3 separate regions of the Homo sapiens genome follow, and regions 1 and 2 are each linked to region 3. The links are contacts of gene promoters, found by promoter capture Hi-C in blood cells and fetal thymus (Javierre and others, 2016). All regions are on one chromosome and are shown on one strand. The core of a region is centred on a gene start or on the middle of the fragment in contact, and the rest is flanking DNA. Distances in the headings are between cores, read along the strand shown.

The links. The method cuts DNA at HindIII sites, captures the fragments that hold promoters and counts their contacts. A CHiCAGO score of 5 or more calls a contact.
Region 1: a contact is called between a fragment that was not itself captured here and the fragment with the promoter of LIPG in region 3, in 2 of 17 cell types (naive CD4 T cells and erythroblasts). The highest score is 5.6, in naive CD4 T cells.
Region 2: a fragment that was not itself captured here is called in contact with the fragment with the promoter of LIPG in region 3 in 1 of 17 cell types (endothelial precursors); the score reaches 5.8 in endothelial precursors.

What each region holds. Positions count from the first base shown.
Region 1 is chr18:49,896,487-49,900,127 of GRCh38, forward strand. All of the region lies in intron 21 of MYO5B (myosin VB), which reads right to left. Among named protein-coding and RNA genes, the nearest start is that of SNHG22, 84 kb to the left of the region's middle. RefSeq lists a silencer at 1,993-2,287. The HindIII fragment of the contact is 2,143 bases long and covers 1,274-3,416 here.
Region 2 is chr18:49,835,256-49,838,873 of GRCh38, forward strand. It overlaps MYO5B (myosin VB), which reads right to left. Exons shown (of 40, transcript NM_001080467.3): 37 at 2,262-2,547; 38 at 1,456-1,630; 39 at 89-169. The region is part of intron 1 of SNHG22 (small nucleolar RNA host gene 22); the gene reads left to right. Among named protein-coding and RNA genes, the nearest start is that of SNHG22, 23 kb to the left of the region's middle. The HindIII fragment of the contact is 531 bases long and covers 2,041-2,571 here.
Region 3 is chr18:49,560,405-49,564,161 of GRCh38, forward strand. LIPG (lipase G, endothelial type) reads left to right here and starts at 1,653. Exons shown (of 10, transcript NM_006033.4): 1 at 1,653-2,001. The coding sequence starts at 1,905. RefSeq lists an enhancer at 1,860-2,360. The HindIII fragment of the contact is 7,229 bases long and covers 1-3,757 here.

The DNA.
Region 1 (3,641 bases), core at 1,095-3,594, 340 kb after region 3:
GAGGGAACACATGCTGGAGTAGCCACCCTCTGACTTCATCTCTGCTCTGGGCTGGACATGAGGTTTGGCCCAGCTGCTCTCTCTAGATGGCACAGCCTGGGTCAAATCACTAGGAGTGGAAGGATAACTAGGCAGGAGGTCTCTAGGTAGAGCTTGTTGGAGTATGAAGAGAGGCACGCATGGTAACAGGAGGCACATCCTATCCTGCTATTGACAAAGATGGCACCTCAGGACTCTAATGCGAAGTATGATGTATCCAGGAGGCCCAGCTGCATTGATCTTGACACCGCCTGAGACCTGGCTCAGGGATGTCAGGGAGTTGAGTGGCTGGAGCTGGACAGACATGTGCTCAGATCCCAGCTCTATCCTTGATCAGCTGTGTACATCCAACCTAATCAACCAACCTTTCTGTGCCCCAGTGTCCTCATGTGTAAAACAGGAATATAATAGTAACTCCTGCCTCAGAGGGTGGTTATCAAGATTAGGGAGATAAAGTACTTTGCTAGGGGCTCAGTAAACATCAGCTATCTTCCTTGTTCAAGTTCTCTATGGAGAACCCTGGAGAGTTGCCCGAGTCTCTGGCTGTCTGGGGTGTGGGTGGGGAGCTCCTATGTCTTTTCATGGGCATCCAGATATTGTCACTGGGGGCTTGTGGAGGCGGTGCATTTTCTGTTCTGGACATCTGACTTCAGAAGGACAGGCCCCAGAAGGCTCGTCCTTGCACCTGCAGGTGTCACAGCCATGCAGCCAAGCCTGGCAGAGGGCAGGGCATGGGGTGCCCACACCCTCGGAGACCCCAGAAACCCTCCCTGCCATGTTACTGCCCTGAAGACCTTCCAGTGGAACAAGATATGGAGGTGGAAGGCAGTGATACTGACGATCCTGACCTTGTGTGTGTCTAGGCTAATGAATGTATCCGTGTCTTAGTTTTTAACAAAAAAAAGTAAAAAAAAATTTTTAAACTTAATTTTTAATTTTCCTGGGTACATAGTAGGTGTGTATATGTATGGGGTATATAAAATGTTTTGATAGATATGCAATGTGAAATAAGCACATCATGAAGAATGGGATACCCCAAAAATAAATTTTAAAAATAGAAAAAAGCTTACAGAATAAGGATATCAAGAAATAAAAAATTTTTGTAGAGTTGTACATGTTTGTGTTTTAAGCTAAGCCTTATTACAAAGAAGCCACAAGTTAAAAGTATTATTTATAAAGTAAAAATATTACAGTACTCCAAGGTTAATTATTGAAGAAAAGCAATTTTCTAGTAAGCTTAGTGTAGCCTAAGTGTACGGCTTATAAAGTCTACAGGAGTGGACAGTTTATAAAGTCGATAGGAGTGGACAGTTTATAAAGTCTACAGGAGTGGAAAGTAATGTCCTGGACCTTCACATTCACTCACCCTACACATCTTCCAGGCCTGCAAGCCCCATTCATGGTAAGTGCCCTATACGGGTGTGCCATCTTTTACACCATATTTTTATTATCCCTTCTCTATGTTTAGATACGTTTAGATACACAAATATCATTGTGTTACACCTGCCTATGATATTCAGTACAGTAACATGCTGTACAGGTTTGTAGCCTAGGAACAATAGGCTATGCCACATAGCCTAGGTGTGTAGCAGGCTACACCATCTAGGTTTGTGTAAGCGAAATCTATGATGTTCACACAACTACAAACTCACCTAACGATGCATTTCTCATAAGGTACCCCTGTCATTAACAGATGCATGACTGTATATGACATATATGCATGATTACATATAACGAATTTAACATATTTACAAAGTGACTACTAAGTATATGGAATCAAATTGATTTAAAAGGCTACTGACTCCATATATTTGTGTCATATTTCTCATATAAAATATATTTAAGGATAACCTTATATTCATAAGTGTCTAAGGAACTTTACTCTCATTATAAATAAATTGTAAGTTAAACTGGCCAACTCTAAATGTGTGCTTGACTAAAGTTAGGCTGGCAGAGAGCCGAGTTCACGGACTACATCGTTTTACTGAATGACGTCATACCACAGCCTATCCCAGGGACACTGCAAGAAATGGTCTCAAGAACCAGCATTGTATATATCACCGTAGGATATGGTGAAGGATGTGGCTTGTCACGTCACAGATTATGAAAGCCCACAGGAAAAACAAGTCAGCACCACGGACAGCTCCAAATCCTCTTGAACTGCATGGTTCTTTTCTATTAAGAACTCTCAAGCCACTCAGTTTTCTTCCTGTTACTGTTTGCATAGAAACTTGGTGCCAAATTTGCATCTTTTCTTTCCAGGTGGGTGTACAAGGCCTTAGGATATGAATGTTGGGTGCTAGCCTTACCCTGGTTTTATCTTTGTTTCCTCCCTTACTGACTTCTTGGCAGTGAGGATACATTTTTAGAAAAAAGCTCCCCAGGGGATTCTAGAGCACAGTCTGGGGATAGGAACCCTACTCTAGCCAGATCATGGTTATCAGTGAATTTTTGAGCTAGATGTTACCTTAGAGATCTCAGGCGAATCCCCTTGGAAGAACTAAAGCCCCAATCATTTCCAAGCTATCAGCTCTGGTTGTGAATACAACTGAGACAGAACCCAGGCCTCTGTCCAGTGGGCACTCTGTCTACTCCCTATGCTGTTCTCACAAATACCTTGGGACACCTTCACCTGTGGTGTCCTTGGTGTTCGCAGATCCTCCCCTTCTGGCTTAGAAACCTTGTGTGACCAGAGGACCACTGCCTAAGTTGTCTCCAGGAATTATAGGAAAAAAAAAATTCACTTGCAAACAGCTGGCCCCATCTGCTAAGAGATTGCAATGAAACAAGCCCCTATATAGAGCTCTAATGGAGATTATGTCAATGCTTCCTCTTGTAACAGAGTGTCAAGCATGTTATTTGACACTGGGTCACACTCCCCACTTTAAATGCCAGCCGGTCCCAAGCAAGGACAATGCTATCTGTATGAGCATGAACCCAAACTAAGGCTAAGAGTCTCCCTTGGACTGAGGAGTTCTCCTGACATGTTCCAAGAGTCTCCCAATAGCTAAATATCTTATAGCTTGGTCAGAGGTGGCAGAACATACCCTGAAACCAGCCTGACAGGTTTCAATCCCAGCCATGCTACTTACTAGCTGTGTGACCTCAGTCAAGCTACTTAACCTCTGTGTGCCTCAGTTTCTTCATCCTTAAAATGGGAATAATATTAATGTTTATCTCCTAGGGTTCTGGTGGGGATTAAATGAGTTAATACGTGAGAAGAGCACAGCGTGCCTAGTCAGGTAGTGCAGGCAAGGGCACAAGAAAGCAAGAGCTTATCCACTCCTCCCGTCTTTTCTGATCACCCTCTACACACAGGGCATCCTGCCCAGGGTAGCTAACACCTGCCACCACTCACAGATGTTTGCCAAGCAGGAAGCTTAAGGCAAAAAGCTTTTTTTATTTTTTTTTTAAATAGGCCATTTAAATCTGCTTTTCTTTGATTTTTCAAGCACGTGGATTGTAAAATGCTAGATTTATTTTTATCCTCTCAAGTTAACTTTAGAAATCAGCAATGCCAATGCAGAGCCCCAAGGCTGGAAAGCAAGGCCTGGGGGAGCCAGCATGTACACAGGGCTCCCAGCAGGGTGCAGCGGTCAATG
Region 2 (3,618 bases), core at 1,056-3,555, 280 kb after region 3:
ATAAAGAGAAGCAAGATTAAAGCCCAAATTTTTAATTTCCTTTATAGTCGTAGACTGGACTTTATAAAATTACTATCTTAAAACTCACCTGGATTGTTCGTATAAAGGCCACTGTTACCCGTTCTTCAAATTCATTCAGGGGAGTATAAAGGTTTAAAATTTTGACAATCTGTTGGGGATAAAAACGGAATTTAGCACAGAGCTAAATGAACATGAGACAACTTTTGAACTTTAAAGAATATGTGACATTGGTACAAGAGTATGATCCTCTTTAGACAAGGCCCACAACACAGATGGAGCTGGACTGACATTTACACTTGGAGCCTGCATCCAGGAAACTAGAGCCCACAGCTTTGTCAGGTGGATCTGAGCCCTCTCACCGAACTCATGTCTCCTGTAAACCCACCTGCCCCTCCCCACTATGCTCATTGGTATACACAATGAGGAGTTTAGAATGCAGTTGCCTGAAATCCTCAGCCTCATATCTACTAGTAATTTAAAGGTTTCTTCTGAAGAGTACTGGAGATCTTACCTTAGATGAGAAAGGTCTTGTTTAATACCTAACTACCCCCTGTCCCCCAACATTGTTTACAAATGAGTATTTGAACAGGAGATACTCTTTTGTCTGCCTACCACTGGTTTGGTGGAAGTAGACTGCCCAAATGCAATGCCAGCTGCATCTAGAAGGAAACTTACTTTAAGTGAAATGTATTTAAAGAGAAGAAAAATGTTTGAAGACTTTCTGGAAATGTTTACAGAAGGAAGCAGTTTTTTAAAGAGTTAGATATTTAATATTTTAATAGTAAGCAGAGGAGGTAAGGAAAGGTGTTCACTTTGCTATATTAAGATGTGTTTTTCTGTACTGAGTTTGGATTTTGTTATTTATCTTTCAGGGACTGGCAATGTGTCGGCAACTGAATCATGGTTATACATTTTTTAGGGAAAAGGAAAGTAACACTTAAATGCCCCTAAGTTCTTAATGACTTCATTTAAAACAATATAAATGAGTGTGAGTGAAAATATGACCATATTGCAATTAGTTTTAAAGAAAAGGTTTTTCTTACAGTTATATTTGTAAAGAAAGCAAATACCTGATGCTGCCAATTTCTGAAAATTTGTGGATTTCTATGTAAGAAACATTCCAGAATTCATTATATTTAAAGAAGTTTTTACCTAAACTTAACGTTTTGTGAGTTTGCTACCTTATCTTTTTAAGTGAGTAAGAGGGATAGAGAGTTACTAGAAAACAGTATCTGTGGCATCTTGTTTCACAGACCAAATGGTTTTTGGTTCATCTAGGAATATCCCATCAGCTGCACTTCAAAATTGTCTCATTAGGGGTATATAAAGGGTGGGAGTGCAACACTAACAAATAACCACCAACGAGAACAGACTTGGAATGGACTCAGGGCTTCCTTGGAATACCATGTTGACAGAGGTGCAAAGTGACTGTACCTGCTGGGTGCTGAGGGAGGTACACAGGGAGCAGATAGCCTCTGCGTCCTCCTGGGTTTTCTTCTTTAATTGCAGGAGCTGGGCTGCTTGGATCAGAGGTTCCATGGTCTGAACTGCTCCACTCTGGTGAAGGTTTCTTCCCCGAAGCCACTCCTCAAGCTGACTTATATTGTACCTTAGCCATAGGTAGAAAGCAAGCTATGTTAAGCCGGTCCTCCTAATTCACTGAGAAGGGGACACCTGTTGTGTTTTGCAGGCCCGCTGCAGCTAGTGCCATTATTTATCTCACACGGTTAAAAAGCATGGCAAGTGCCTTGCACTCAGGAACTATTTGTTGAATAAAGAATGAATAAATGAATGAGTGGGTACTTAAAATCAAGCAAAGATGAAATACCTGAAGTGTCTACATAAGTTAACAGGGAAAAACAGGCATTAAATATACTGAATTGTAAGTATTTATATTTAACATTCACAAATGTATTTATACTTCTATGTGAGCCTTCATGCCTCTTAACTCATTGAGTTTTCTCTCTGACCTATCTGCTTTGTATTCAGTCTTTAACTTAGAGTATGTCAACATCTTTAAGCTTTGAACTAATTTGTTTACCAAGTCAACCATCTCAGTGTTCGACGGATTTCACCAACAGGTAAAAAGGTGATGGATTTGAGTCACAGACTGATGGAGACAAGGACTGTCAATTAGATTTGGATTTCATTTTTAGAAACAGCAGTCTTGTGTTCTGATTCTAGCTGCAGTCAGTGAGGGCCCACTCTATCTGTGTTGTTGGGGGGTGCTCCTCCCTTACCTGAGTTGCATGCCTGTGCTCCAAGAGCAGACGTCCTTCCGCAAGAGCAGGTTGTTAAGAGTCACTGCGTTGATCATGTAGAAGAGCTGTTTGAATACCTGCAGGATGATCTCAGGGTCCAAGCCCTGGTCACACATGACTGTATGAAAGGCATTCATCTGGCGGATGATAGCTTCCAGGCAGTATGAGTTATCCCCATCTGCCATGCTGGAGGAGCGCTTCCGGTAGCCGGTGGGCTTCACACCAGATAGACCCTGAATGCTCTCATTTTCCAACATGGCAGAAACTGAAATAAAAGCACAGTTAGAGAAGCTTGCATTCCCCACTAACAATGCAAAGATTGGACCACTCAAATCATTTAGTGCTCCGGGCTTTAGCAATGATACCATCCAGAGGTGTGCAATGTTGACATGCTTAGGAACTTATAACATTTGGCAAAAAATTTCTAATGTGTTGATTTCTGTATGGAATAAAACAGCTGTGGACAGCATTTTCATTTAATTTACTGGCAATTAGACAAAGATGATGGGCATGTACCAGCTCGATTTGGTATCGCCTGTGCTGAAGTCCACAGTTTGAGAATTGAGCAACCTGGGTGTCATCCTCGTCCAGCCACTGACTATGTAAATAAGAGCTTCATTGGTCCGTCATACTTACTAAGCAGCCATTACCTATGCACCAGGGGCTTTATGTTCAGTATCTCTTTCAATCTTCCAACAACTCTATAAAGTACTACCCATTTTTATGAGGAAGTTGAGGTATAAAGCGGTTAAATAACTTGTCTGAGGTCACACTGATAGGGAGTGGCAGGGCCAGGATTTAAACCCAAGTCTGTCTGACTCCAGAACTGCTGCTATTAACCTTCACATTATTCTGAGTATCTCCAGCTTGATATGTCAGTTCTCCCTCTGTCTGGTGCCTTATAAAAAGATTTCCAGACAGGAAGGAGGGTTTGGAATGAACCTCATTTCAAGTAATGTATTTCTAGATTGGTCCTTCTTGGGATTCACTCATAACCTACTTGTGTTGTAAGAACCTGGGGAAAGCATTATGAATAGGTCCAGGTACACTTTCCTTCCCAGCCTTTGCAGAGCACAGTGAGTAATGCATCTACACATAATTTTTCTTCCGATTGAAAATGTAACTGCTCTCATTTCTCAATTCTGATTTCATGTTCAGTGCCCAAGTACACTGCTTGGTTCAAAGCAAGTGTCTAATAAATACTGATGCATCGTGCCGACTGCTGTGTCCTTTCGCATGAACACTCCTGCTTTTTTCCATGAATCAAGTTCATAATAGGTTAAGAGGGTTATGCTTTTTCACTGTATATGCATTTGTACCTTTTGAGTTTACATTT
Region 3 (3,757 bases), core at 403-2,902:
AGAGCAGAGAAGAGAGACCTGGTTGTCTTGAGACTTTCTTCAAATCTGCAGCCTGTCCCCATGACTCAGTTTTCCCATCTGTAAAATGGAGATAACATTAGACCTATGTCTGTATAGTTTCCTCATGAAGAGAGAGACAGAGTGGGAACAACATATCCGGGGGTGATATTTACCATCGCACACAGACCATTGAGTTCTATACTAAAAAACTAAAGCCCGCCTGAGTCTTGTTAATGAATGATAGCACACGGGAGGGACAAAGCGTGCTCTGCTGGCAGCTGGAGTAACAAAAGTAATGAGGCGAGGTCGGAACAGGATCTGCTGGCTCCGGCTCGGTTTCCTCGCACAGGTCTCTCCAGCTGGATCCTCGACGCTAGGGAGGAAGGGGCGCGGGACTGCTGTGGGGGTTTTCCCTCCCCAGGCAGGGGCAGGACCTGTTCCGGGCGACTGCAGGGTTAAGGGTATCGTCTTAAAGAGCCGGATCCTCCCGGCTGGAGCGAGGCTGGATGGCGGGACGCAGCCTCTCAGCCTCTCGTACCCGCCCTGCGTCCGCAGTGGTTGTTGGCGCAGCCGCCCCGTCGGTGTTCCGGGCTCAGTCCCCGCTCCCCAGCGCCAGACGCAGACTCCGGGCCAAGTTCTCCCTCCGCTCGCTGCTTTCTGCCGCAGGACCCGGATCAATAAAGGGAAGGAGAGCCGGGAGGAAATGATGGAGAACAGAGAGAAAGGAGATGCTTGATTTCACTCGCCAAGGAGTGAGTGCTCATCGGCAGACACTGGGCTCTGGCCACGCGTCTTAGACTCCAAATCTCGGCTCACTGGTCCCTTTGAGGAGGTCGCCTGGTGTTCCCGTAGCCCTCCACCCCACCGTAGGAGAGCGCCTGCCACGAGCTCCGCGCCTCGCTAAGTGCTTTGCTACGTGAACTCTTAGTTTTCCCAACATCCCTAAGCCGCCGATACATTATCACCCACGTATTGCGGACGAGAGAACCGCCTCGGAGAAGCTGGCTGGCTCGCTTGGAGTTTTGCAGCTAGTGGCGGAGCGAGCATTCCGAGCAGGTACTGTGCGATCCTCCAGCGCCGGCCGCAGCTCACAGCCCCTTAGCTCCGCCGGGTTATTGTGCGGCCGCGCCTTCTGCACCTGTTGCGGCCCTCGCTAGGCGGGAAGGGAGGGAGAAGAGGAGGACAAAGGGGATGACCAGGTGGCTCTCCCCCGACGGACTCCCGGCCCAGGGAGCGGATAGACCACTCCCAGAGAGAGTGTGGCTTTGAGCCTTGGAGAGGATGCTCTCCTTCTCCAGGGATCGCCTCCCCAGCGGACGCAGAGTTTCAGGGAAATGTCCGCCTCCGCCACTTGGGATGGCAGTGGGGAGAGGAGGATCTGGGTGTCCGGAGGAGGGCAGTGGGAGAAAGCTGGAGCTGCTGGAGTCGCAGCTGCCTGCGGAGCGGGCCCGGGAGGAAGCGGGGCCGAGCGTGCGGCGTCCACGCGGTGAGTGTGCAGCGCTTTCATTCAAACTTTCTCCAGTCTCGGTTCCGGCGTCAGCAAGGTGTGACCAATCAGAGCCCAGAGACGGGAATAAATTATGCAAATCACCATCTGGCGATGGGTCAGATGACTCCCATACTTTTAAAAACTACCTCTATAGGAGCGTGACAGCAGCGAGTCCTTGCCTCCCGGCGGCTCAGGACGAGGGCAGATCTCGTTCTGGGGCAAGCCGTTGACACTCGCTCCCTGCCACCGCCCGGGCTCCGTGCCGCCAAGTTTTCATTTTCCACCTTCTCTGCCTCCAGTCCCCCAGCCCCTGGCCGAGAGAAGGGTCTTACCGGCCGGGATTGCTGGAAACACCAAGAGGTGGTTTTTGTTTTTTAAAACTTCTGTTTCTTGGGAGGGGGTGTGGCGGGGCAGGATGAGCAACTCCGTTCCTCTGCTCTGTTTCTGGAGCCTCTGCTATTGCTTTGCTGCGGGGAGCCCCGTACCTTTTGGTCCAGAGGGACGGCTGGAAGGTAACGTGAATTTGTTTTTATTCCCCCCAGCCACTTCTCTGTGCTGGGTCCCCTCTGTCTTGCTGATTCTTCAAACCCTCCTTGTTCCTATGAAATTCTTCCTTTCCCACTGCGCTGCCCATTCTCTCCTCCAATCCACCTTGGAGTCCACCTGTCTCTCTGCTGGTCTGATGGGGGCATTCCCGGCAAGTCATGCAAAAGGCAAAGGCTGGCAGGGTGCGCTGGCTCTTGCCAGCCCTCCCACCCCCACCTCCTTCCCTTATACGGCTCCCTAAGCCAGTGCTGGTGCTGTCCAGCCAGCCGAGCGGCCTGGCAGCAGCTCTGAAACCTTGTCCTCATGCCTGAACCTGGAGGTTTGAGAGGCAAGAAGGCTGTCAGAGCTGTGTCTCCTGGAGCTGCCTTTTAATCTTGGTGTAGGTGTCTTGAAAGTTCAGGTGGCAGGGTAGCTGGCTTTGGTTTGATTCGTGCTTGCAGGGAGCGTCTGGTGGGTCGCTTGTGCTTAGAAGCTGCCGGGCCTATTCCCCCAGGTTGCCAGCCTTTTCCTCTTCAACACTCTTGTGCTCCCCCGACTCTTCCTCTTCCCACTCCTCCTCCCTTTCCTCCTCCTGGCTTTTAGCTTCTCTTCCTCTTGGGTTCTGTATGGCAGCCTTTGCCAGTGGAGGCAGCTTGCCCTGGGGGAGCCAGAGTCAGTCAGCTCTGGGGGAGTCAGAATCAGAGTGAGAACTAAGTCAGCTGATAAGCAGTGGAGGGCTGGGGAGCCTCTAAACTGAACCCCATCATCTCATCTTCTAGTCTGCTGAGGTTGTGCCAAATGGTCTGTGTGGGCTTGTGTATGTGTGGGAGGGTTACTGTGAATGAATGGAAAGCCTTGCTTTACTCAACATGTTTCCAACTCTGGTGCTAACTAGAAGCATTGCCTAGGGCAGGTCTCATCTCTGGCTCCTCACCTGTAAAATGCTAAAGTTCCTTCTAACTTCTGTGTTCTGGGCCTCTGAGTATGTGTGAGTCATTTCCTTCATTGCAAAAAGTATTTACTGCATACCTACTTAGTGTCAGACACTATTCTGGGAGCAGGGGAGAGAGCAGTGGACAAAATAGATGGCAATCTGTGCCCTTGTGACACTTACATTTCAGTGGTGGGAAGACAGACAGTGCACTGATTAAAGTATCAGTGGTGCTCAGTATTATGGAGAAAAATCAAGCAGAGGAGGAAGGTGGGGCATGTTGGTGGGGGAAGGTGGTGCGATTTTATGATGTGGTCAGGGAAGGCCTTTCTGGAGAAGTTGACCATTGAGCAAAGAGCTGAAGGGGGTGAGAGAAGGAGCCATGAGGACATCTGGGTGAGGAACAATCAGAAAGTCCCAGAGGCTGAAGTGACCCAGGCCAAAAGTAGTAGGAATGTACCTAGAGAACTTTGGGGTCAGAGCAGGTCAGACTCTAAGAGGAAGAGTCTTTGTCCATATGTGGGTTTATCCGCAGATCTGTCTCAGGAATCCAGGAGACTTCTTTTCTCCTAGGTTTCCCCATCTGGCCTCTGCATGAGTGGCTATCTGGGTAGAAGGTGGGGAGTTGTCGAACTCATTATGTCCGTGGTTCAAATTTCTGCTGGTTGGGGCTTTTGTTCATTACTTTCATGACGGTTAACCTGACTTCCGCTCATGTGCATTCAGCAGCATTTTCTGGAACCTTATCCCTCTTACATCTGCTGCATTCTTCCCCCTCTCTCCCTCCTTTCCCCTCCGCCCTCTCCACCACT